Linked DNA regions of Homo sapiens: regions 1, 3, 4, 5, 6 and 7 are each linked to region 2. Evidence: promoter capture Hi-C in human tissues and cell types (Jung and others, 2019). All regions are on one chromosome and are shown on one strand. The core of a region is centred on a gene start or on the middle of the fragment in contact, and the rest is flanking DNA. Distances in the headings are between cores, read along the strand shown. Region 1 overlaps CDH20 (cadherin 20). Region 2 holds the start of CDH20 (cadherin 20). Region 3 has its middle 120 kb from the start of CDH20. Region 4 overlaps CDH20 (cadherin 20). Region 5 overlaps CDH20 (cadherin 20). Region 6 has its middle 72 kb from the start of CDH20. Region 7 has its middle 91 kb from the start of CDH20.

Evidence for each region. Contacts are between HindIII fragments. The study calls those that stand out against the background at their distance.
Region 1: a contact is called between a fragment that was not itself captured here and the fragment with the promoter of CDH20 in region 2, in 6 of the 25 tissues and cell types used here (aorta, bladder, dorsolateral prefrontal cortex and 3 more).
Region 3: a contact is called between a fragment that was not itself captured here and the fragment with the promoter of CDH20 in region 2, in 6 of the 25 tissues and cell types used here (adrenal gland, bladder, heart left ventricle and 3 more).
Region 4: a contact is called between a fragment that was not itself captured here and the fragment with the promoter of CDH20 in region 2, in 5 of the 25 tissues and cell types used here (H1 embryonic stem cells, dorsolateral prefrontal cortex, hippocampus and 2 more).
Region 5: a contact is called between a fragment that was not itself captured here and the fragment with the promoter of CDH20 in region 2, in 3 of the 25 tissues and cell types used here (bladder, dorsolateral prefrontal cortex and hippocampus).
Region 6: a contact is called between a fragment that was not itself captured here and the fragment with the promoter of CDH20 in region 2, in 2 of the 25 tissues and cell types used here (ovary and thymus).
Region 7: a fragment that was not itself captured here is called in contact with the fragment with the promoter of CDH20 in region 2 in 4 of the 25 tissues and cell types used here (H1 embryonic stem cells, liver, mesenchymal stem cells and 1 more).

Annotation. Positions count from the first base shown.
Region 1 is chr18:61,420,770-61,424,508 of GRCh38, reverse strand. All of the region lies in intron 1 of CDH20 (cadherin 20), which reads right to left. Among named protein-coding and RNA genes, the nearest start is that of CDH20, 89 kb to the right of the region's middle. The HindIII fragment of the contact is 5,425 bases long and covers 1-3,739 here.
Region 2 is chr18:61,331,320-61,334,949 of GRCh38, reverse strand. CDH20 (cadherin 20) reads right to left here and starts at 1,520. Exons shown (of 12, transcript NM_031891.4): 1 at 1,123-1,520. The HindIII fragment of the contact is 19,388 bases long and covers 1-3,630 here.
Region 3 is chr18:61,213,716-61,217,112 of GRCh38, reverse strand. No RefSeq gene overlaps it. Among named protein-coding and RNA genes, the nearest start is that of CDH20, 120 kb to the left of the region's middle. The HindIII fragment of the contact is 3,990 bases long and covers 1-3,299 here.
Region 4 is chr18:61,442,062-61,445,650 of GRCh38, reverse strand. The region is part of intron 1 of CDH20 (cadherin 20); the gene reads right to left. Among named protein-coding and RNA genes, the nearest start is that of CDH20, 110 kb to the right of the region's middle. The HindIII fragment of the contact is 4,049 bases long and covers 1-3,339 here.
Region 5 is chr18:61,397,646-61,401,144 of GRCh38, reverse strand. All of the region lies in intron 1 of CDH20 (cadherin 20), which reads right to left. Among named protein-coding and RNA genes, the nearest start is that of CDH20, 66 kb to the right of the region's middle. The HindIII fragment of the contact is 8,240 bases long and covers 1-3,499 here.
Region 6 is chr18:61,259,614-61,263,043 of GRCh38, reverse strand. No RefSeq gene overlaps it. Among named protein-coding and RNA genes, the nearest start is that of CDH20, 72 kb to the left of the region's middle. The HindIII fragment of the contact is 6,105 bases long and covers 1-3,430 here.
Region 7 is chr18:61,240,485-61,244,023 of GRCh38, reverse strand. No RefSeq gene overlaps it. Among named protein-coding and RNA genes, the nearest start is that of CDH20, 91 kb to the left of the region's middle. The HindIII fragment of the contact is 3,001 bases long and covers 1-2,961 here.

The sequences.
Region 1 (3,739 bases), core at 167-2,666, 90 kb before region 2:
AGAAGGGTATAGTATCTAACCTAGAGCAAATTAAGTCTAATTTAGGCACAAATAATAATCAGTGCTAACACTGCCATACTTTCCAATGCTCAGAGAGACACATTTTGGTTTCTGTAGGCCTCCCATTTAGTAAACATTGCACAAGATGGCAGGCAAGTCTTCAGTGCTTGTAGCACACTGCTTGTAAACACAAGTTGATTAAGTCTGCTGGTGAAATGCTCACTGTAGCTAACAATAATCTATTGTATATTTCAAAATAGACGAACTAGAAGAGAGGACTTGAAATGTTTCCAACACAAAAAAGTCATAAATGTTTGAGGTGATGGATATCATAATTGCTCTGGTTCAATCATTACACATCATATGCATGTATCAAAATATCACATGTACCCCGTAAGTATGTACAATTATGTATTAGTAAAACAAACATGAGTTGAAGACACTGTTGCATATACTCAAGTCTGCATAGAATGCAGTGCTGGAGGTTGTCTTGCTGCCATTTTTTTGATGAGCGTAGGAAGCGAAGAAGGGTATACTTGCCAGAGAATGAGGGAAGATAAAATTAGAAAAAATATAAACATTTAGAAAGGATTAAAATCTTTGAAAATGATATCATTGTCTCTGTGCATATGCTATACTCTTTAATTAATTTTTGTATTTTAGAAAACTATAAAACACTGTCACGTTGAAAGAATTTAATCTAGCATTTGGAAGTGAAATATGGACAGCTTATATTGAATAAAATAATTTTCCAGAACTTCAGATTTATAGAATGAGTTCAAAAAGCTTTGAATTTAGCAATTTTTTTATGGGGTGAAGGCTGGAGAGAAGCAGGAATGGGGAGTCTGATATACATCATGATTAAACAGTGGCTTTTACTGCTAGATGTTATAAAATGTAGCATAGATCTATTAAATTAAAAAGAAAAAAAAAAGAAATTTCCAGAGAGAGTCAGCCTGGACTTAATAGATGCTTAATCTTGTAGTGTAGCATATTCAGGGGAGTCAGGGTAAAGGTAAGATAGGGCCTTGGCCCTGATGGATGATGCAGAGATTATTCACAAACAAGTGAATGGGATTGTACTATGAAACTATGACTCTCAGATAAGTGAGTTCTTTACAAGAAGGCATGAGTCCTCAGACACACTTAGAGGAGCTCAAGCAGGAAGAGGGTCCAGGCTGTGTCTCTATAACACTGAGTGCTCTGATGGGGGCTGCCCTAGCTGAAAAGAGAGACCCTGAGAGGGCAGGGGGCCCTCCCCAAATCCTTATCCCTGTGCTCTGTATACCTCATCCTTCTGCATCTTTGATGCTGATCTGACGCTACTGACCACATTCTTACTGGTCCACACTTGACGTGATTTGGGACCTCCCCAGGATTTGCCCTGTTTCTTCTTCTCGCATTGGACCAGCCATTGAATATTCTTGATAAAAAGAACAGAAAGAAATAAAAACCAACTGACAATGATAAAGTTGTATTTTTATTTAGTAGCTAAATCATTCATCTACCCACAAGACTTATCCTAAATTACAAAAATAACAATTGCGCTCTCTGTGTAAAAGAGAATTCCGTTATAAACATAGTCAAAAGCAAAATATAATCATTGGAACTACTTTCTCCTACTCTTTCATAAAATTTATGTTAGATGAGTCATGGACAGTTTTATTTATGAATTATGGGCTCGTTCACACTTGGTAGCTATTGTATAAAATGTGACCATTTATATAAGTATATATTTATAAATATATTTTATATATTTAAAACATTTAACAAAAGTATTTTTTGTTCTCTTTATATTGTATACTGTGAGTAATTTTTTATTAAATGTCATGTAATCAAAAGCTCACAGTATGATAATCTTTTTCAGAATCTTGGCTCCCATGCTGAGTAAAAATACTTCCCTGAACATAGAAAGTTTGAGGTTTTTTAAAAAATGTAATGTGCAGTTATAACTGTGGAGTTTTCTTCTGATAACAGCTTCTCCTAAAAACACAGCAAAGGTCAACAGAACTGCCTGGCTAACTAGAAAGTAATTAGAAAAATTCTCATTAATGTGGCTATTTATTTATTTATTTTTTGCCCTGTAGCAACATTATTTTTTCCCAGTAAAACACTAATTTCTAATTTAATTTAAATGATATCAAGACAGAAGATGCCAATGTGGAAAGATAGAGAAATTGACAACCCATAAAGCAGCTTATAAAGAACTGATAGTTTTCCTTTTGCCTGGAAACTGCCAGTTGCTTTCCCTGCAGCTGTATTCGATAAGCTCAGAAGAATATTCTTGAAAGAGAAATGAAATATATGTTTAATTATGTCTTTAAGCTTGTGTAGGAAATCACTTTTCTGTCCCATGGAGCTAAAGAACCGTGAATTTCATGTATTTTTTAAAATATTACCATCCTCATTAAGGTCCCTGAATGCATGGACTAGAAGCCATATTAATCCCAAATCAGTATGCTTCTTTTGTTATTTTAGATAGTAAGTACAGTAAGCATGGTAATGTATAGATTTTTGAAAAGTTGCTTGAAAAATTAGTTCATTGTATGATATGAGCGTTATTGAAAATGGAATTTGTGACTATTTAGATGAAAACTACTGAATTTTCCCCCCTCATTGACACTAATCAGACCAAATAAAATTTTTCCAGTGGAATTGGAATTAATTCTATGTTATGTGCCCCTCTGGAAAAGCAAGACTCATGATTATCTATCTATCTATCCATCTGGTTTATTATTGATACATATTAGGTATACATATTTTTGAGGTACATGTGATAATTTGATACATTCATATAATCAGGTCAGGTTAATTGGTATATATATCTACCACCCCAAATATTCTTTTTTATGCTATAGACATTCAAAATATTATCTTCTGGCTACTTTGAGATGTATAATTGATTCGTGTTAACTATAGTAACTCTACTGATCAATTGAACACCAGGTGATAGTTTATATTTGTAAGAGACCCACAAATCCAGGAATAGAGCTGTACACTTTATAATTATAAATGACATGATTAGATAGTGAAACATTTAAGCCCGATTGCCAGAGACTCAGAGATTTAGATCTGGGACTTCTTTTTTGGAATATAAAGTAGGAGTTATGCCTCTGGTGATAACAGTAAATTTGAAAAGATAATAAGAGAGAATATTATGAATTTCATTAAGTGAAATTTATCTTCATGGCCCATGGATTAGATTACACTAGTTTTTAATGTTCTGTATTAGCTGCAATATTTTTGCTATCCCTTTGTTTTACTTCTCTGCTTCATTTATTTACAAAAAATTTCTCGAACATTATTTTAGACACCATTTCATTAATTTTACCACTCTGTTGATCAAATAATGTCAAGTTTAATCGTTAGCTATTTAAGTTTGGAAAGAGCAAGGTCATGACCCTCTCCCTTTGTTCTTTATAGCTGGCAAATTTTAGTATGTATTATTATTATTTTTTTGGAGACAGTATCGCTCTGTCACCCAGACTGGAGTGCAGTGGTGCAATCTCAGCTCCCTGCAACCTCTGCCTCCCAGGTTCAAGCAGTTCTCCTGCCTCAGCCTCCCAAGTAGCTGGGATTACAGGCACGCCACACGCCCAGCTAGTTTTTGTATTTTTAGTAGAGACAGGGTTTTGCCATGTTGGCCAGGCTAGCCTCGAACTCCTGATCTCAGGCGATCCACCCACCTCAGCCTCCAAAGTGCTGGGATTACAGGAGTGAGCCACCGCGCCCAGCCAGA
Region 2 (3,630 bases), core at 271-2,770:
CCGGGGACATTTCATTTGAGGGGAGGCGGCTGCAGGTTCAATTTGCAGGCGATTTATAACAATCAGAAAAAAAATTGTTCCTGGTGCTCGTGCCAATAACAAGAGCATTAATAATAATAGCAACAACATAGTAAACTCTGAATCTACCAGGCGACCAACTCCCCGATTGTCTGGTACTATCCCCTCTCACTTCCAGCCTGGTCTCGGCAGAAACAAACAAAACAAAACAAGGCTCTGACGCTGCCTCCGGGCTGCCTTCCAGATTTCAGCCCCCACTGCTGCCCCAGAGGCGGATAGCTAGGCAAAGGCTGCTGCAGTCTCTCCGATTGCTAAGGACACGTTGAGAGTCCTCGGTAACGTTCTCTTTGCAAATCTGAAACTTTAGCCCCATTTGACCCCCTTGCCCCCGGCTCTTCCCCCAGAGTAACTACAACAAGCAAAAACCAAACAGCGAGCGCAATTCAGAGCTTTCCTTGGGAGTGTCAGGGCCCGAGGACAGGAAATCCGGGGAGTTGGCGAAGTCCGGCAGGTGGCGGGGACTCGAGTACCCACCACATTCTCCTCCCACAGCCGAGCTCCGGCGGGGGCGCGGCGCGAGGCACGGACCAGGGATCGGCCCCGTAGGTGCCTGCGCCTCCCCGGAGCCTGGCTCTCTGGTCCCCTTCCCGGCGCACATCTCTGTGCGAGGGACGCGGCCACCCTGTCCCCTCTGCAGGCGGAGGGAGGCGCCACCGCCTGCGGGGCCAGCGAGGGTGAAGCCGTGCCAAGCGCCCCCACAAGCCGCGCTCCTGGATCCCCAGTCACCATCCCCAGGCGCGCGCAGTCCCCGCTCCCAGCGCGCCACGTCCTCCACCTGCCCCGGTGCGCCCCAGCTTCCCTGCTTCCAGAGAGCAGCTCCCCCAGTCCCGGCAGCCCATTTCCAACCCCTTCTCCCACTAAGTCCGAGGAAGTCGAACTCGGAGCGGCCGGTAGGCTCGTCGAGGTGGCAGGGAGTTGCTGGGAGAGCACAGCGCGGAGAGGGACCGCGCACGCCGCCCGGGGATTTCGCCCCAGAGGGCTGGCTCCGCGCGCCCGGAGTCCCAAGCCCCAGAAGCGGGGCCCGACCCGAGCCCTCTGCGTTACCTGGCACCGCCGGCGACTCTCCGGAGACCTTCGGTCCTAACTGCTCCAGGGCGGGCGTTCTGCTCACGTAGCTGCCTCCCCCACTGGGCGGCTGGTGCCCCGCTGGGTCTCTTCACCCCTGCTCGCGGCGCTGTCCCCGCCCCCCACCCCCCTACCCCCTCTGTCAGAAGTGTCACAGCTTTTCTGCCTTCGGATGTTTCGCAAAGTCTCCGTGCGGTTGCCAGGAGTTGGGGGGTACTGCCAAGTGCACCAACCCCGCCGATGCCCTGCCCTGCCCTCCCGCGGCCACCGCGTTCGGCCTGTCCAGTGAGAAGAGCCCCCTGGTCGCGGTCACCGTCCCCCGAGCGTGGCGCGCGGTCCGCTTCCCCTCCCTCGCGCCTTCCCTAGCAGGAGTGGCTGCTGCCTGCCTGTACCGCGGGTCCTCATTCCCCTGCTCATGAATATTCTGACAGAGGCTAATGCCGCTGAAGTAAATTGAATTAGCCAATTGGTGCCAGGAATGTGCGCTCCTTCCTTCTGAGGAGCTGTCTGGAACCCCACCAGATGAAAGCAATTAACGTCCGGTTGGCACCCTGTGGTTTAGACCAGTGAGGGGCAAAATGGGTTAATTCTTTAAATGCAGTTTAGATACCGCATTTAAATGTTTCAACTCCTCTATTGGCTGAGAGCGTAAGGAAATGTTAAGAGGGAGAGAGAAGAAAGGGGATGTGTGGACGTGGGGAGGGGGGCGGGGGTATTTACATCTAAACTTTCCCCTGAAGTTGAGGTAATTATTTTGCACAGATTCTGGAAGAGGCAATTGAGGAGTAGAACAGGATAAGGCAAATAAAATCAGAAAGGAAATGAGTACCAACTCGGGTTTAACCTTGACCTTGAGGGTGCAAAAGACATTGTTTTCAAGAGGAGAGGTAGGGGAAGATGGCATGTGTGAGGGAAACCTCACTCATCGACTTTTAAGAATTTCTTCAAATGCTCAGATTTCCTTTTCTTTTTGTCCTCATAGGAAAATCTTAGAGTTTTAAGCCTTTAACTAGAGATGGGGTGGAGGTATATTAAGGGTCAGAAATTTCTGAGGTGGAAGCTGAGACCACCCTTCTCTCCCAGATGAAGGGGGTCCCCCAAATCACACAATACTGTGACAGGCCCATTCCAGAAGGCAATTCCAGCTCTTATTTCTGAGGTCAGAATACACAAGGTCAAAAGGAGAGATCACCTCTCTCCTGTCCTGATTCCTACCCTAGAATGTCAAGTTACTGACGACAACTTGGGTTTCACAGTGGCTGGAGGGGGACTTTTTGCCCGATGTGGTTTCTACATTTCTCTTCAAGCAAGGTGCTTGGAGGATTTCCTCCCCCATCACTGATTGTAATAGAGCAAGTTATTTTGATTGAATTGATAGGTTACTAAATAATCTATTTGTACAACTGCTCTGTGGCCAAATGATCAATGTGTGTAAAGAACTGATAAAATGATATATATAAACATCCAATAAGATTCCCAAGTGTGTGACAATAGAAATAGTATCCCAGTTAAGGCAGTCATGCCATATTTTAATAGCTTTCAGCAGGCCTAGAATTAGAACTCATAGTTATAACAATGATTATTAATAGCAGAATAGCTAATGTTTATGGAGAACTTGTTATGTGACAGACATGTGTTACACATGTTATTTCATTTCATTTTTCCAACAACTCTATTCAGTCTAGACTATTATTTCTCTATTTTAATAGATGATGCAGATGTGGCTCAATAAAGTAAGGGCAGTTGACCCTTGAACAACATGGGGGTTAGGAGCACTGACCCTCGTGTAGTCAAAAATCCGCATATAACTTTTCACTCCAAAAACTTAACTACTAATAGCCTACTGTTGTCTGGAAACTTTATGGATAACATAAGCAGTCGACTAACACATATTTTATATGCTATACATTTTATATGCTGTATTCTTAACAATAGTCTGGAGGAAAGAAAATGATACTAAGGAAATAATAAGGAAAATGAAATGTATTTACTATTCATTAAGTGGAAGTGGATCATCATAAAGGTCTTCATCCTTGTTGGCTTCATGTTGAGCAGGTGAAGGAGAAGGAGGAAGAGGGAGGCTTGGTCTTGCCCTGTCAGGGATGACAGATGGGAGAAAATCCATGTCTAAGTGGACTCATAGAGTTCAAACTTTTGTTGTTCAAGGATCAACTGTAGTGTGTCCAGGTCATATAGCTCATAAGTGGGGAGATCAACTTTGACCCAAAGGACTCTGATTAGTGGTCCAGGGCCTTCCGGTCTCTAGCAGCTTAAACTGTCTTCTTGTCTAAAAAGAAAATCAGTTTCTTGGTGTTTTGTTGAAGTGACTTGTTTTTGGTGATCAATTTCTTACACAAAATTTAGAGAAAATCATGAGTCTTTTTTTTTTTTTTTGGATAGTGTGATGGTTAATTTTATGGGTCAACTTAACTGAGCCATAAGGTACTCAGATATCTGGTGGAACATTATCGTGGAAGTTTTTGTGAG
Region 3 (3,397 bases), core at 55-2,554, 120 kb after region 2:
TTTGTGTTCCAGTCCAAAGATGTTATGAAAATATAGACCTTGGCAGTTTGTGATGTACTAAGGTAATTGCCATATTTAAATGTAAATGATTATCATTTTGAATATTTAAGAAATCAAGGTAAAGAGAACTGAATTTTAACATTACTTAGATGATATAAGCTGAGGGATATTGTAATGGAAGAATAAAAAAATCGTAAGGGGAGTAACTCAGTTTAAAAGATGTTTGTTAGATGTTTTTCAGTGAATTAAGAAAAGATGAGATGCTGTCACAGGCTCTGTCATGGTCCTTAGAAGCATGTCTCTTTACAAGTGTGGAGGTGATGCCCATTTAAAGCTTATCATTATAAGGGTATCTTTGTCTAAGAAAAGGACTGCCATGTTGTTTCAGTTTAAATGTCTGTGGATTTCTGATTCCAGAGAATTATTTTGATATCAGGGATATTTGTTGTTTTGAAAAACCTGGCTGGCAAATGCTTTTTAAAAAAATCAACTCATTACTTGGTTTTTATGTATAAGGGTAACACGTGACATCCAAATATTTCATTTTGTATAGCTTCATGTCTTAAAGTTCTGATATAAATTGAGGGCTTGAAAATGCCATCTCCAGCAAAGATGGTGATGCTCTGATGGAGAGAAAAGAGGTGGCAAACCGCTCTGCACTGGTGAATTCAACAGAGAGGATGAAGCAAGGCAGTGTGCCGGACACCCCCATCCCCGTTGCCCAAATCCTCCAAAAGAACATATTCTCACATGTCACTGCCAAGAAAATAAGGTCAATATGCATCTAAATAAATTACAAAAGACCCTTACTGTGCAGTAGGCAGCCAAGCCTCGAGGCGCCATGCTGAGTTTGGAGGTATCACCAAATGTGCTGGCTCTGTGGGAGAACGGCTTTCTCTTCCTCACCGTGGTGGGAAAGAGAAGGCTGCTGTCACTGTTCTTCCACTGCCATCTTTGCTGACAAGATTTGGAGTGACAGTGGCCTGTGGCTTCATCAGTTGAGAAAAGCACAGTAAATTGGCAGCTACTATAATGGCAAGTATGTCTACTTCCCTGCCTGACTCCTTTTGGAAAAGAGCACAAGAGCATATGAAAATTGTGCCTCATCCTCTGACTTATATGGGCAAATGCACCTTCTCTGTTGACCTGTTGATTATGATGCTTATGCCTCCCTTGACTGCCTGGGTCTATAATGATAGGCATCATAAAACCAGATAGAAACACACAGTCATGACTGCAAACATTCATTCACATAGCAGAGGCTTAACAGTCCAAAGTACCAAGCAGATCTCATTTGACTTTGTAGTAAGGTTTTATGTGTAATCATGACAGATGTTCAGGGAGATTATCTTTTTCCATCTCCACCCTGCCTCTCTGCAGCTTGCTCACACAGGACTCGCTCCAAAATACCCTCTCTTTTGCAAACAGATGAAGCTTGAGGCCTTCAACAGTACGAAGTCAACATTCTACTCATCAAGCATTTGCTTTCCCAACAGATGAATGCTCCTTTCTCTTAGGCCAGTGGCAGGCTGCCCTGCAAGTCCTGCTTGGCTTTTTGTGCCAAGAGCTACCTGATGCCAACCAGAGGCAACTTCAAAGCTACTTTATGTCATAACAGAACTTTAAGAACTTGTCCCCTCTAATGATGCATACTGGATAGTAAAGATGTTTTGGATGTGTATTTACTTTGTCGCTAATCTCCCTTCAGGGGTTTAAAAGTGAATAGGCATAATAAAATGCTTCTTGCTGTTTCTCTTCAAATTTAGGGATTGACTGCACCACATGCTTTCTCTAGGCTTATTTGGTTATCTCTAAGTAAAGGCTTTTCTCCGCCAAAGTTCTCAATTTCCAGTGATACTTGAAGAGCATTCTGTTTGACACAGGCATTTCTCAGTCCAATTATGACATCTTATAACATCATCCAATATTTTCTTTTCTAAGATTGGAAAAGGAAAAACAAAGGCATAAGGATCTCTTTGGAAAAATTTTCAAAGCATGGGTTAAAGACCTATTTGGACCAATAGATAATGCCTTTTCTCTGTTTCTATTTTGTATTGTTTTTTGTTTTAAACAATGTTCCTATGTTTTGGCATTTCCTCTTTATTTGTTTGCATTTTCTGTGTTAAAAAGAAGGTATGTTTAGGCCTTATCTAGAAGGCACACACATTTAAATATTAAAATATCTCCCATGCAAACATATTTGGAATAGGAGGAAAAAACCAGGACATTGTAAATGAAGAAATGCTTTTATAAATTCAGTGTGGTCCTCAGGGTACTCAGGAAGCTAATTAAGAGCATCTCATTCCCTCTGTGGGTAATCACTTGAAATACAGAGCTTAACAGAACAGGGTATCAGGAATATAAGGAGAAATGCTTATCAATGGTCCCTGTTTCCTAAGAAGCACCCTTGTTGCCATTCAAGTGCCACACTGCACAAGTTCCTAAACTATGAATGACGCTAGGAATCTTCAGGTTGGAATTTATAGTCGTGTGGGACAAGAAAATTATCCAGGTCACCCCTTCTCATTTCAGTCGTGGAAGACACCAAAACCTAAAGGGGCTGAAGGAATTGTACAAAGTCACACAAAACATTAGCAAGTAGAAATTAGACCTCAAACTTCCTTGACAATTATTTCTTGCTCTAGGTTCCAAAGGAAATGATTCTCAGAAGACTTTATTTTCTTTTTTTGGAGGTCTCAGTACCATGCCATTCCACATTGGACATTTTCTGAACCGATAAACTGTATGGTAAAACAACAGATTCATACAAACTCATTTTGATTGGTTATTTCTTTCTTTATGTAGTTTCTTTTTTGATTGTCTTCCTCGTAAATTTAACATGGTCCCAATTGTAAATAAAATCAAGTGATCTGTTTTAAATTGACTTCTGAGTACATGTACTGGGATCTGTGTTCTAGGAAGACACCATATCTCTTGGGCTTTGGTAGACACAGATTGATTAGGTGCCATGTATCTCACATAGAGAAGATGTGATTCAGATAGAAAATGAAGGATCTCACTAGCCATAAAAGAAAGAAACAATATTACACAGTTAAAGTCTTGCCAACAGGACCAAAGTATGGCTCTACAGTCTTTGTGGTCTGAGACACCTCTCTGTTCTATTCCTAAATTTCAAAATTGATTCTTCTGTATTTAGTTCTTGGCAAGATTATCAGACAAGCCAATCTGTAGGATTGTTTGAATTCCGTATGTTTGGCATTTGAATTAAAGTAAGGATAAATTATAACATTTAAAGTTCTTTGAGGCAAGAGTTTGAAGGTCCTCACCCCCTTTTCTTTTATTACTTACTATTTGTCTTCGTTGGCTCTGATGATGTATTTTCAACAACATGGAGCTAATAATGACATAATAATAACTATTAGTTCAATCTATACAT
Region 4 (3,589 bases), core at 66-2,565, 110 kb before region 2:
GTTGTCCAAAGAGCAAGAGTGTTGGACTTTGAATAATCTGAGTTCAAATCTTTGACCACTTATGTGACTTGGAATAGGTTACTTAACATTTCTGAGCTTCATTTTTCCTATCTTTAAAATGAGAATAATGGGACCTTGTGGGATTGTTGTGACATTTGGAAGTAATTAATATAAAGCTAATGGCTGCCAGTTTAAAAAATTGTGGCTATTCTTTTTATTATTAGGAAAACTTAGAGGTTAGGCTTTGGCATCAATTAGATTTGTGTTTTCTTTCTGGTTCCATTGCTAACAACTCTGTGGCTTAGGGCAGGTTATAGAACTTCTCTGATTTGTGGATTTTTTTTGTGTAAATGGAGGATAAAACCTACCTTGCAGGGTTGTTATAGATTAGAAACAGTGCCTGTAAGACACCACATAGTGACCAGCACATGGTAGGCACTAAATAAATAGTAGATATAATTATAAATATAATAATTACTATTTTAACTCTAAACTTATTATGGCTGCTGGCAGGAGTAGGGCAGACTAGAAAATTCATAGCCAAGCTTTAAAACCTTTGAAGGAATTATAAGAAGGTGGTAGGCATTAGTAGAAGATAGTAATGAAGTTTCAGAATGGATGATATTAATAAATGATATAAATTTTCAAAGAAGAAACTTTTGAATGATGAGAGCAGAATAAAGACTTAGAATAGCATTTAGAGCAACCCCTTTCTTCCACTAGTACTGGGAATCAGAGGAAATAGGCTAAGGAGATTTAAAAAGTAATGAGTTTCTAAATATTAGAAAAGGCCACAAAACTCCAACATAATGAATTTGAAATTATGGAGAACAAGGGAGGTCAAGAGACTGGCAGGAAAGTAATATGATTGATAAGCAGGATTATTTTGAGGAATTTTAGTAAAGAAGAGGAAGGTTTAAAGCTCTGCCTCATTCAACAGACAGTTCACGGCTGTAGTTTGCTGTGTCCTCTAACATCAGCCACCCATGTAGACTTGCACAGGACTTGCACCTCTCCGGCAGCCCTCCCCCTTTGGGTTGAATCTCTCTTGACCTTCCTCAGACAGATTAATCTATTTTCCTTTAAAAGACTACCAGCAAGTAATTGACTATCTCAATGCCTGAGAACCTCCATTTACCAACTTTTCCCATAGCTGCCAACTTCAGTCTGTTTTTACAAGGGTATTAGCCTTCAAGCATATCCCATACCATATTTAATAGCCATTGAACATCCCTTTTGGTCTGGACATAAAAACAAAATATACTCAACAGTTCCCAAGAAAGATATATGTCAGCATCTGGAAACATTTTTAAAAAATTGTTTTATCTGTCTAATAATGTATACACCTGTCTTATATACCCATACCTTTGATATAACATCACCCATTCATCTGACATTTACTGAGTATCTACTATGTATTAGATACTAGTCTAGATACCCTACCCTTTTGGAGGTTGAAATCTATGGTGCAGAATGGGGAGGGAGGCAGTGGTGACAGAGAGATGGACCATAAATAAATAAATACACAAGTATTTACTTAAGAATGTACAAGACATGCAATATACCTTGACTAGCTATAAGCCCCAAACTCTAAAGGGTCTGAGAGAGTCCAGGTATTGGGTATATTCAGGGGAAAGAGTAACGGGTCCAGACAACTGACTTCCTGCCGACACTGTGCACTGGGAGTCACTGGAGATTCCCAGTGGTGGACTACCCATACCCTGGCTATCTAGGGCCATCTGCAATTTCCCAGATCCCTACCAGTGTTGTACTCTCTCCTTTTCCCTTTCTGTCCCCAACATGGTCTGTTGGGCCATTCAAATTCCTAATAGAGCACCATGGGGAGAGGGGTCCTGAAAGCTTCTCTAGAGACCAAGGCTGTCCAAATCGCAACCAACAGTGGGATAACGAGCTTATGCCAGAATGTAAATCAGTGCCCTGCATCCTCTATAAAAGAAAATCTCGCTATGGAAAAAAATGTCATCTGAACGACAGGGTGTGCTTAGTCATGCAGCTGATTTGCATTCTTTTGTGGGCTCCCTGTCTTGTTGCAGACTAGGAACAAATAGTTTGTGGACAGGTGCTGGTCCGAGGGCCACACTCTGAGTAGCACGGCTCTGGAGCATAGACTGTACATCTGGGATCCATGTGGCTGCATCCAGCCTGCAGTCATGTTTTCTTTGGCCTGCATACCGTTGTCAACACTTGAAAATATAAATATTTTAAATAAAATTCCACATTTTCAATAGCTCTTCATCATGTCTTTGTGTCCCTCCAACAGTTGATATGTAGAGATTCCATATTCCTACATAGCAAAAGAAAGATGGAACTGAGAAGTGATTATCCCTTTTATATGGGGCCTGTACCTTTAAAGAACCCAAGGGACATGTTTGGCCCAGTTTTTTCATTTATGCTGTTTGCTGGCCCTTAGAGGCATTTGATTTCAAAACCCCTAAGGATCAGTGGGCTCACTGAACAAGCACAATTGTTGCTCAGCCCTGGGAGGAAAAACCTAGTAGGAGTGTGATTAAGAATGTCCCTTTTCTTCCTTCCTTTATTCTTTCACCCATTCATGAGGTCTTCTCTCCCACCCTTTCCATCATAAAAGTACTTACAACTTATCGTGTGGAAGCTGCTCAGTGATGAGACTGGGAAAGATGAATATGCGTACGCTCTTTCACTCACAGCAAAATCACTAGTAAGTAGTTCCAATCTGGGAAGCACTGTTTTTTTTTTTCAGGATCCCGGGGAATTAGATCTTTAAATCTGAGGGCAAATCAGTGAGGGCCTCAGAAGGCCAGATCTGTGTGCCATTGCTAACTGCTCAGAGATGAATTACTGCTAACCTTCCCAAGAGAGCAGGTCAAATCAAAGTATTGCTTTAGAAAGTGCCTTTTGGTTTCTAATGGTTCAATGATCTTCTTGTAACAAAGATTCTCCTTTCACTGCTCCCTCTAATCCTTACAAATTTTACAAAATGGTGTTTGATCTGACTTCTGTGAAAGCACATAATAGTCTGCAGTTTTAGTTAGAGTCTTTTTGATGCCATTTTCCCATTGGTTTGAAGCCTTAATTGTATTCTTCTGTGCCATATGAAGTATACTAATTGAAACTGAAAATTATAAGTGAGTACTTGTTATGATGCAGCAGACTTGATTTTGGGCAGCCCTCATTTGGCCAGACTTAGGTAAAGTTCTGGAAAACCACTGTGATGTTCTAAGACAGATGCCCTGCCTGGAAGTCCTCATGACCAGCATTTGCTTCTGTTTTTTTTTTTTTTCTTTTCTTTTTCTTTTTTTTAAGACAGGGTCTCACTCTGTTGTGCAGGCTGGAGTACAGTGGTGCGATCTTAGTTCAGTGCAGCCTTGAGCTCCTAGGTTCAAGAGATCCTCCTGCCTCAGTCTCCCAAGTAGCTGGGACTACAGGCACATGCCACCATGCCTGGCCAATTTTCAGTTTTTTACGTAGGGAGAGAGTCTTGCCATGTTGCCCAGGCTGGTCTCGAATTCCTGGCCTCCTGCAGTCTTCCTCCCAAAGTGCTAGGATTAAAGGCATGAGCCACCATGTCCATTTGGGTTTTGTTTTGCAT
Region 5 (3,499 bases), core at 351-2,850, 66 kb before region 2:
GATTAGTGCCTCTTCTCATTCCAAGATAGTGTCCTCTATTAGCATGGATGCTGGAGATGCAGCTGCACGGAGAGCATAGTTTGATATGCCAGAGGTAGGAGATATTCCAGGGAGGGCCAGCCCTTCAACGCATTAGATCAAATGTTCTCAGCCCGAGGAGGACAATCCCTCAACTCTAAGGTTAAGTCTAAATAGCAGCCACTTCCTCTTTCCCACTAAATACTTATTATGAGTCAGGCCCTTGTCATTTGGGGTTTCAAGCCAATGATAATAATCTTTCAGTTTATATCGAATACTATTGGGACACCAAAGACTGACCAGAGCTCATTCTTTGGTTCTGAATTCCAAGATAGCCTTTATTATATGGTCCAAGATGAATAACTTCCTAACACTATCACTTGATATCTTTACACAAGAACATTTGCCTCCTGTGAATTGAATCCTAGAAATAAAATTGTGCAGGTATTAGGGTGATGCATTTACCTGAATCTGGCAGAAGCACTTTCGACACAGCTAACACAATTATGGAACGAGAGGAGGGTAGAGGTTGTGTTCCCTTTGTCTCTTTTTCAACTACAGAAATTACACTGTGGTAGCAGGATTTCCTTTAAATCTAGGTTTGATAGACATTCCATCTCCCTTTGCTCATTTTCACTTGCACATAATCTCAGTTATGTGACATATTACCAGAGAAGAGAGTCCTGCTTTTGCCTTTAGGTCTTTCGCAAGTTAACTGAAGAAAAGAATGAATTTTCAGATTGACTGTTATCTCACTAATCACATCTGCCCCCAAGTTAAGCAGTATCTACTTTGCCTTGCTCTGTCTAGACCTGACAGTCTAGACAAGAGTTAATGCTCATTAGCAGGCTGGAGAGGCCCCATGGACCTCCTTTGCCAGATAGTGTGATGTTTTCTTCTTCTGATAGAATTTGGAAAGAGGCTGCGACTACAGGTCAGGGAGGTGGACATGCAACAGGAAGCAGCCCTATTGTCCCCTCACTTGGTAACAGTCTCACAGTACAGCAACACATTCAGCTCCTAGGATAAAAGTAGGTGTTTTGCTTTAATTAAGACCAACAAAGACTTTTCTGTTCTCAATAGGCTTATATTTTTAGACACTAAGGTAAGGAGGAAAAGAACATTATCCTATTCTGTGCATAAAAATAAAGATTCAGCATGAACTGCATAATTAAGAACTGAAAGGGGGAAATACAATTCAATTAAAACTGACAGAATAATACACGGAATCAATGGCTTTATTTGGTGCTTAATGATGATACTGTTTTCATTTCATTATACATGAGTCATAACCAGCTTTGCCTTAGTGTAATTGTATTTTTTACAGAGTAAACCAAAGTATGCAATTTGTTATAGACTCATCAATTAAAAAGAGGCTGATTTAAGATGATCATAAGTTGATCCCTGAGACTGAAAGCAAATTTTTTCCATTCCAATATATTAACTTATTAGAATGATGAGTAATTTTAGGCAGGGGTGGAGAGAGGCATTGGTGGGGGAGGTGAAGATCAGTGAACAAATATTAAAGACTGATTTCCATGAAAAAAATGGCAGTAGTATGTTTTCCAGTGGGGAAATGATAGGGTGATGTATTTTTGATCCAGTGAGCTGAACAAAACATGATGGGATTTCGGGCTGGAGAAGAAATGTATAAAATGAATCATAATATTGACACAAAGCCAAGTGTAACAGGGAGATATCATTTCCATATGTGGCCTTCTAGCTATGTGGATTTTAAAATTGGAAAATGAGACCCAAGGAAAGCAGAAAGAAGAGGTTAAATTAGAAGTTAGGCTACTCGAGTACTTTCTGGAATTAATAGTGGAATATAGAACATGTTGCTGTGAGGAACATTCACTAAACTTCTCAGACGTCCTGCTCTGTGAGGTACAGACAACTGCTGGTGTTCTATGAACCCCACTGAAAACCCAATGTGAATTAGCAATGAATGACTATGCAGTCAGGATCGGAGAGGTTGGTCACTGCAAAATGTGTCTGACTTATGTCTTCATTCCATTAGTCATGTTGATAAAAGTTTCATATTTTCCATGCCTTGACTAAACTTCAAATGTACTGTATGAACAGGTAAATGAAGGGACTCTCATTTACCCATGACAACCCTGTGCTCCTCAAAAGCTGATAAGTTTGGGCCAGGGAAATAGTAATTTTCCCTTCATCGTGGGATCAAAGGGCCTACCCTGTCCTCCCTGGCAGACTTGTGCTGGCCACTCAGAACATACTGATATAGGCCAGATCTTCCCACAGTAAATATATCCTTCTAACTCATTTCTATTTGTTAATATTAGCGTAATCTTCTTTCTTACTGGGCCATGCTTCTTTGTGACTGGGCCATGCTGACAATGCCATTGATTCCTGTAGAGTGACCTGGAGTGGACAGAGGAAAAGCAAACCTAACAGAAAAGTATATACTCAGGAGTCTCAATGCCCACAAATGATAACACAAGAAGGCCTGTGCTCTGTAGATAGGGGAGACCATCTTAAATTCATAATAACTCATCTGTAAGAACCATTTTTATATCTTCTTAAATATCTTACATTTTCCTTTTTTGTTGTTGTTTTTACACATTGAAAATAAGATGTCAATATGCTGATCAGCAGAAAGGTTTTTCAGACACTTCCATAGATTATCCCTTAAATACTTGGCTTATCATTTAATCTTCTAATTATGATCTCCTAATCATAACCAGCTACTTGAGTAAATATGTACATATAGATATATGTATATAAATTAAGAAGACCATAATTAAATTGATACTACTCTTTTCAGGTTCTGGAATTGTTGGCAAATTACATAGTTTTTATAGGATGATTAGAAACAAGAACTATCAATTACAAAGCAGATAAAACTATAAAATTAGAGTAAATAAGACATGTACTATGTATGATTCGTATACTAGTTGTGACAGACAAATAGTGACCCGTTCAGACTCTCATTCATTGCAACCTGTAAACAGCACAATGCAATTGCTAGATGGCTACACAGGCTAGGGATGTAGTTAGTTGGTACAAAGCCATAAGTTATGCTGCCCTTGTTAGGATTCAAGCAAATAGCCTTGATCTTGTTGCACTCTGACTTAGCTAGCAGAGCAAGTGAATCACAGTTGGGAGACTACATTTGTTTGGAGTTGTAGCGTTCATTCATTCTTTTATGAATTCCTACATTCAACAAAAACGTTTTCTGCATCTCTTACGATTAAGGCATCATACTAAGTGCTAAATACTTCTTTTAATAAACACTTTATAGTACTTACTATGTGCCAGGCATTGACTCATTTAATTCTCATAATTACTCTATGAGGTGTGTTTCCCTCATTTTACAGATGAGGAAACTAAGTCACAGAGGTTGAGTAACTTGCCTAAGGTTACACGGCTAGTAAGTGGCAGAGCTGAGATTAGAACCCAGGCAGGCTGGCTTCAAAGTTAGTGTTCTTAACCACAAGACAGAGGTAGTCTCTGTTCT
Region 6 (3,430 bases), core at 830-3,329, 72 kb after region 2:
AAAGAAGTGCAGATAACATTTTGAGAATAGCCACATTTGAGGAGTGACAAGACACATGGGTTTGAGTGTACAAGCTAAAGTAATGTTACAAAGGCGTCTACCATCCCTGCAGAGTGGATGGAGAGGACACAGGGAAGCTCTAACTACCTCTGCAACTGCGTGGCAGGGAGAGAAAACACAACTGGACATGCTGGTGAGTTTCAACCAATAAGGAGGGAAGAAGCCAGCAGATCTACTTCTCGTCCTTCTTCCCCATCAAAGACTATTTTAAAAAATAGTAGTTTAATAGGCTCTATGGAGACAACCTGTGAGATCAGGCAACCAGCTATGTTTGTTGTGAAGTTGTGGCCTATTTAGAAACATACCTTCATGTTTTTGCTCTCACTCATTTCCCCCATCACTTCTCCTTTTCCCTTATTCTTGTTTCCTGGGGTTCCTCTGCCTCTCAAAGCATTAGCTAATAAGTTTTTCTTAGGGCTTAGTTTTCAAGGGAGCCTGGGATAAAACACCTTCATTAAATATACTAACCATTGCTCACAGCACACTGGGCATCTACAGCCAATCAGTTAAATACAAGTCTGGTGGTTCTCAAAGAGAGATCCCTGGCCCAGCACCCGCAGAATCAGCATCACTTGGGGATTTGTTAGAAATGCAAGTTCTCAGGCCTCACCCTATACCAACCAAATTAGAAATGCTGGCTAGTTTTGATGCACACTAATTAATGCATGAAATCCATTGATCTAGTCCAAGTGTTGTCCAACTCATATTTATGGACTAGCTGCTTATTTTTTATAACAAAATGGTTTATTGGAACGCAGCCACACCCATTCGTTTACTTAGAGCCTATGGCTGCTTTTATATCACAAGGCAGAGTTGAGTGGTTGACAGAATAAAGGATTTATGATATGGCTCTTAAAGAAAACATTTGCCAACTCCTACTCTAGTGCAACCCTGCACTGCTGCTCCCCACAGGTGAGTCATATTCTTACCAAGAGTCAGTGGTTTTTCTTACCCAAACCTGTGTGTACCAGTTACTCTTGTTATTGCTATCATTTAACCTAATTGAACCTACCTCAACCAATGCCCTATGAATTCAATAAGGAAATAGGGATTTTGGATTTTATTTTTATGGAAACTAAGTTGAGTGTTTTGAAGATGCTTGAGGTGAGTAACTAAAATGTATTGCTATAAATCTAGGTGTGTACTATAAGTTTATATATTTTATATAGCTATAAAATACTAGAAGGAAATAATAGAAGTCAAGAAATGGGCCAGGCACGGTGGCTCACACCTGTAATCCCAGCACTCTGAGAGGCCAAGGCAGGTGGATCACTTGAGGTCAGGAGTTTGAGACCAGCCTGGTCAACATGGTGAAACCCCGTCTCTACTAAAAATACAAAAATTAGCCAGGCATGGCAGTGCATGCCTGTAATCCCACCTACTTGGGAGGCTGAGGCAGGAGAATCACTGAACCCAGCAGGCAGAGGTTGCAGTGAGCTGAGATTGTGCCACAGCCCTCCAGCCTGGGCAACAGAGTAAGACTGGGTCTCAAAAACAAAAAATTAAAAAAAAAAAAAAGAAAGGATTTGCATTCATTTTGTATTTAGGTTCTGACTCCACTTTAAAGAAACTCAAACTGGGAATTGCAGGGAATACATTAGGAGTGTCGCTTGGGAAAGAATGGTCTATTAGAATAATCAGAAGAAGCATACTAAAGTAAAAGATAGCCCCATAAAGACTGGTGAATAAGTAAATGTTATCCCCATTGAAGTTAAAGAGAGATGTGGATTGTTTCCGTTGTTTTTATGATTTCAGCTTTAAATAATCTTCTTGATTAGCTGGTCAGGATGCTGACTGAGGCTCGTAAAAGGCATCTTTTAGGTATATGAAAGTAGATGTCCCTGTGTCATGCCTGAATATACCTATAGGTGTATTATTAGGGTCTGCATATCATCAGGATATATAGAAATTTCTCAAATGTATTTTTTTAACCTATGCATCAGAATCACCTTAATAAAATGGAGACGCTTGGAGAGATTCCAAGGAATCTTAATTTTAATGGCCCCCATGTGATTTTTATATATGCAGAAGAATCAGTAGTACAGAATAACCACCTATTTAATTATTCACATTCAAGTCATTAAATAAAATGCAACCCAACTCAAGGGATTATATAAAATCAGCTAATGCTTTTCCTAATGTCTTCCATTAAACTATGTTATTGCATATTTACAGCCATCTTTAAATTCCTTCCATACGAAATGATAGATAAATAGGTAGTTAAGTTTTAGACTTGCTCCTATTTACTATATGAAAGCTTCCATCAGACAGCAATCAGGTTTTTTAGTAGTTAGTGAAGTCCCAGAGTTGAACCATCAAAATCTCAAAGCTGTAAATGTATAAAGTATGAAATCGAGTATGGATGTATATGTGAATGTACATATGAATGTATAATAGAATGTTAACTTTTAAATCTTGTCCAAGACACTGAAATAGAATAGATGTGAAATTTAAAAGTGAGATGCCAAACTCCAAGAGGAAATTTCAATGTCAGTGACTGAGAACTGGTGAGATGGCTCAGAAATTCACAAAAGACAGAGATGCCTTCCTGCATGGACCCCACTGGAGAGTCTGGCTGCTTTCCTGTACTGCAGGTGGAGAGCTGAGAGGGGCCTCTTGAAAAGCCCAGTTTCCTGGAGCTGGGGACATGAGGTCTGGTGCCTGATTTCACTTTGTGAAAGCTAAAACAGCATGGCCTGTAGTGGGAGGAGCAGGTGGGAAGAGAGTGAGAGCAGAGGAGAAAGGGAGGCGTGGGCAGGGTGGGGTGGGGAGAGAGAAAGGAGAGCAGAGACCTAGAGTTAACTCCCTTTTGCCATGGGAGTGTTCCCTCAAGACTCCATCTTGGCCCCTTCTGGGAGGAGAGCAAACTTCATGAAGCCTTAGCAGGTCCTGGCAGGGAGGACTGTCAGGCAGGGGACTCCAGTGAAAGCCTGTTAGTGCAGTGGACAGACACCAGGAGAAGGGAGCCTCGGTCAGAGTGTTACTGGTGGAAAATATACAAGTTACCCCAAGTTACCTGCAGCCTATCCAAAGAAACTTTAGAAAAGAAAAAATAAGGCATACTTTAATTGCATTCATCCTGTGTTTGGTCAGCATGCCAATCAAACATGTATGTGGGTGCTGGTCCCCAAGCACAGTGGCGAAATAAAGATACTCACAAAGCAGCTTAAGTACTAACTCCCTCAAAATTTGGAGGGCAGGTTTGGGAGGCATTTGGCCATGATTCTGTCACCTAAGTATTTTTACCAAATCACTCGAAGAAAAACCTGAGGAAAAAGCTTCTCTGTAGCAATTGTGCTGTGAAACTGTCTTTATGATCACCTTGGAGGGCAGATGCAATCAATTCTCTGCCTGAGATGGTCTTTAACTA
Region 7 (3,539 bases), core at 212-2,711, 91 kb after region 2:
TTCAAAAAAAAAAAATATCACACTGAATTGGTGCACATATTTATACTCAAAAAAATCTGGATCTAGTTCATTGCACTTGATATCAGAAATTAACAACTTTTAATTTCCAACTCTAGATCAGAATCAGATTGATACTGAGAAGTCACATATGGCTAACTCATCTGTAAGTGAAATCTCTTACCATTCCTGGCTGGTCAGCCTGGATAGTTCTACCTCTCTCTCTATGTATACAAAGAGAGAGGGAGAAAGCTGTAAAATTATCGTAATTCCAGGTAAGGCAACTATTCTCGGGTAGACACGGATTCTTTTAGTCATTCTTGCCCATTTCTCTAAAACCATGTTTCTCAAAAGACAACTTATGGATGACCTGCCTCAGATCTTCCAGAAGAAATCCAGATGCCTGGCCTTCAGCCAGACATTTGGAAGCAGAATCTCTAAGAGATGAGTCTGGGAATGAGCATTGAGACGCACTCCCTGGGAATTTGGAAGCACATTAAAATTTGAGAATCACTGCCCATACACACTGGCCTTTCTCCCTCAGAATCTTGTACAAATTTGAAAGCTGATCACTGAATTATTTAAACATTGAGCTTACATTCTTTAAAAATAGATTGAAAAACCCAAACCACAGAGAATCATCTCATTCTAGTTGCCCTTTGAGTCCTGGCACCCTCTTGCATGAGATGGTTATATCAGCTCACTGTCTGTTTCTCTCTCTCTCTCTCTCCACACTCTCACCCTCTGAGATTTTCCCATGTACTGTGTCACAGAGGAGACACAGTTGAGTTTTGTTTTCAGAATGTTCTGGAGAATGGCATATCTTTCAGTTCTCCCAACTCAAGAGGTAGGTGAGTGGGAAGACTAAGGGCTTCAGAGTAGGGCAGACTTCATCTGGGTTTATATTTAATCTCTCCTACTTCCTAAGTATCTTTGGGTCATTTATCTTTTGGATCATTCAGCTGTTTTAACCCCTCTGAGCATGGTGTTCCTTATCCCTGAAAAAGGAACAATGATACCAACTTTGCACGGTTGTTATGGTATTAAATAAAATAGTGTATTCAAAGGGCTCAGTATATTTTGACCTTGCTCAATAAATATTAACCATGATTACAATGATCATTTTGCTTCATGCTGGGGACAGAGGTGTTTCATGGTGTCAAGGTAGAGCAGAGGCCTCTAGATGAGTTTGATAAAGTTGTGCATCCCATCTTTTGCCACTCTGCACTGAATCCTATCTGCGAAATCCCTCGTGTTTGCTAATGCACGCACACCTGGTATCGGGCTTGCCTGTGCTCCACCCACGTCCACTCATGCCTGTTGATGTCCTGTGGGTTCCTTTGTGCTTTATCCAGCTCCAGGTGCATTGCTTGGAGTGACACACTGGTGGTTTTCTTCAGAGCCCTGCCCTAATGGGGCAGTTTGGTCTAGACACCCAGAAAGCAGAAAGCCCCTAAATGTTTATATCTGTTCCCTCCTCTCACAACCAATGCTTGCTACATGAGTGGGGAATCCGATTTCCTTGCCTTGGAAGACAGGACCAATTCTGAAGTGTAATTTACATTCCTGAGCTCACTATAGGATCAGGCTGAAGCTGAAGCTTGGCCTAAAATCCCACATTAGCTTTGCTTCTTTCTCTGACCTGTCCTGTCTCCCTACACCCTTACTGGCTTTTCCTGGGAGCATTCCATAAAAAATCACTTGCACACAAACTCTCATCTCAATGTCTGCTTTTAGGGTTCCTCACTAGGGCGCACACACACACACACTCACACACCTGGTTAGCAGGCGTGCTTGGCTTCTGCAGAAATATCCACAGCCTATTAAGTACCCCAAGAGCACACACAAAAGGATTTCCACATTGGAGTGTTTAGAACAGGGGTCGGCAGGGTCCAGATAGTACATATTTTGGCTCTGTAGGCCACGTATAACAGGCTGTGACACATCGCTGACCCTTGGTTTCAGGTCACAATTCCCCTTTCCTTTACTTCTGTTTGTCTGTGTGTTTTTACACTAATGTCTGTCTGTCCCTCCCTATCATTTAGTTGCTAGGTCAGACTGATCACTTGCTCAGAATGATTGGTGTCCCCTTCAGTGCCTTTAAACTTCTGGGAATAAACTGAAAATATGAGGCACAGAATTACTGCTAACACCTGGGTCATCTGTCCAACTGCCAGATAGTTTTGTTTTTTTTTAAACTGCCAGTGTTTGTATTGCAATGGCTCCACAGCCATGTTAATGCCAGCAAAACAGCATTTAGATCTGTGAATCCCCATGGAAAGCAAGCAATATCAGCACCCAGAAGCGTCATTAGTATTTTGTAGTCTTTGCTTTATTGTTCTGCCTCAAACTAGCAACCTTCAGTGGATCATTGACATTACTCCTACTCTGCTACCAGTTTATTTACTAAGCGGTAGAAATTTAGCATGAGCTGAGGTGAGAAAGGCTTATTTACATTCAATATTACTTGACATCCTTATAATTTTTCCTTTTCATGACAAGGGGAGAAATTTACATTAAAAACACATCAGTAACCTTAGTAATCTCCTTGAGCAGACAAGGGTGCATAAAATCAGAAGGCAAGCTAAGAATGATGGGAACACAAATGCAGTCAAGCCTATTTCAGACGAATTATAAAACTGTAAGATTAACGAAAAAGCTTGCAACATACTTAGCCCAGGGAAGTCAGTAGTTACTGGGTGGTCTCCAGCTTTATCTTGATGAGAGAAATCATTTTTTAAAGAATGGAAAGAAGTCGAGAACTGCATTCGGCATTCAGATCATTGTAATGAAGGAGTTAAAGAGGTTGGTAGCTGCCGTTTTATTGTTGTAATATATCTGAAAGTAAAGCTTTTCTTTAAAAATTGAATTTTTATGCAGTATACATTTAAATTTTGTCATCAAATAACTCTTTTTGCTCTAAATAAAATCAATATTGAATTGCAACACCCACAGAGTAGCTAGAATGCATTAGAACATTGGGATGTAATTTGTACTGGAGATGTATTTATAACTCTCTCAACTTGTCTGACATGTGCCAAAATGACAATAGTGTAGTTCAGGTGTATCTCTGAGAAGCTTCTAGAATTGTTGCATTTCCCAACTTTATCCATTGTGAGAATAGACTGGGGTCTCAGACACATTGGCAGCTATATAATGGTTTGGGACAACTCTTGGCAAGGAGAGCTGGTGGGTAGAACTCAAACAACAGATCCAGGTGGGTTAGACATCATTGGCACTGATGTTTTCCTGGCACAGATTAAAACTTTGTGCTTTGACCATGTTGTCCCTGGAAGCTGATGTTTTAAACCAAAACCAACGTTCTAAGGATCTATCCTAAAATCTCTGCAACTTTTGAGAATAAGAAATGTTAAATGGCATCAGTAAATTTAAATTGAACTTTCCTTTTAAAATTTGGCAATCAAGGTAGAGTCCTTATGAAGCATGGATTGAAGCAAAGGTAGAAATCATCTGAGCACAATCCCTGCTTAGACTGACATCTTTTCATACCAAGTACAAGGCTTTTTTTCCCATAAAATTTT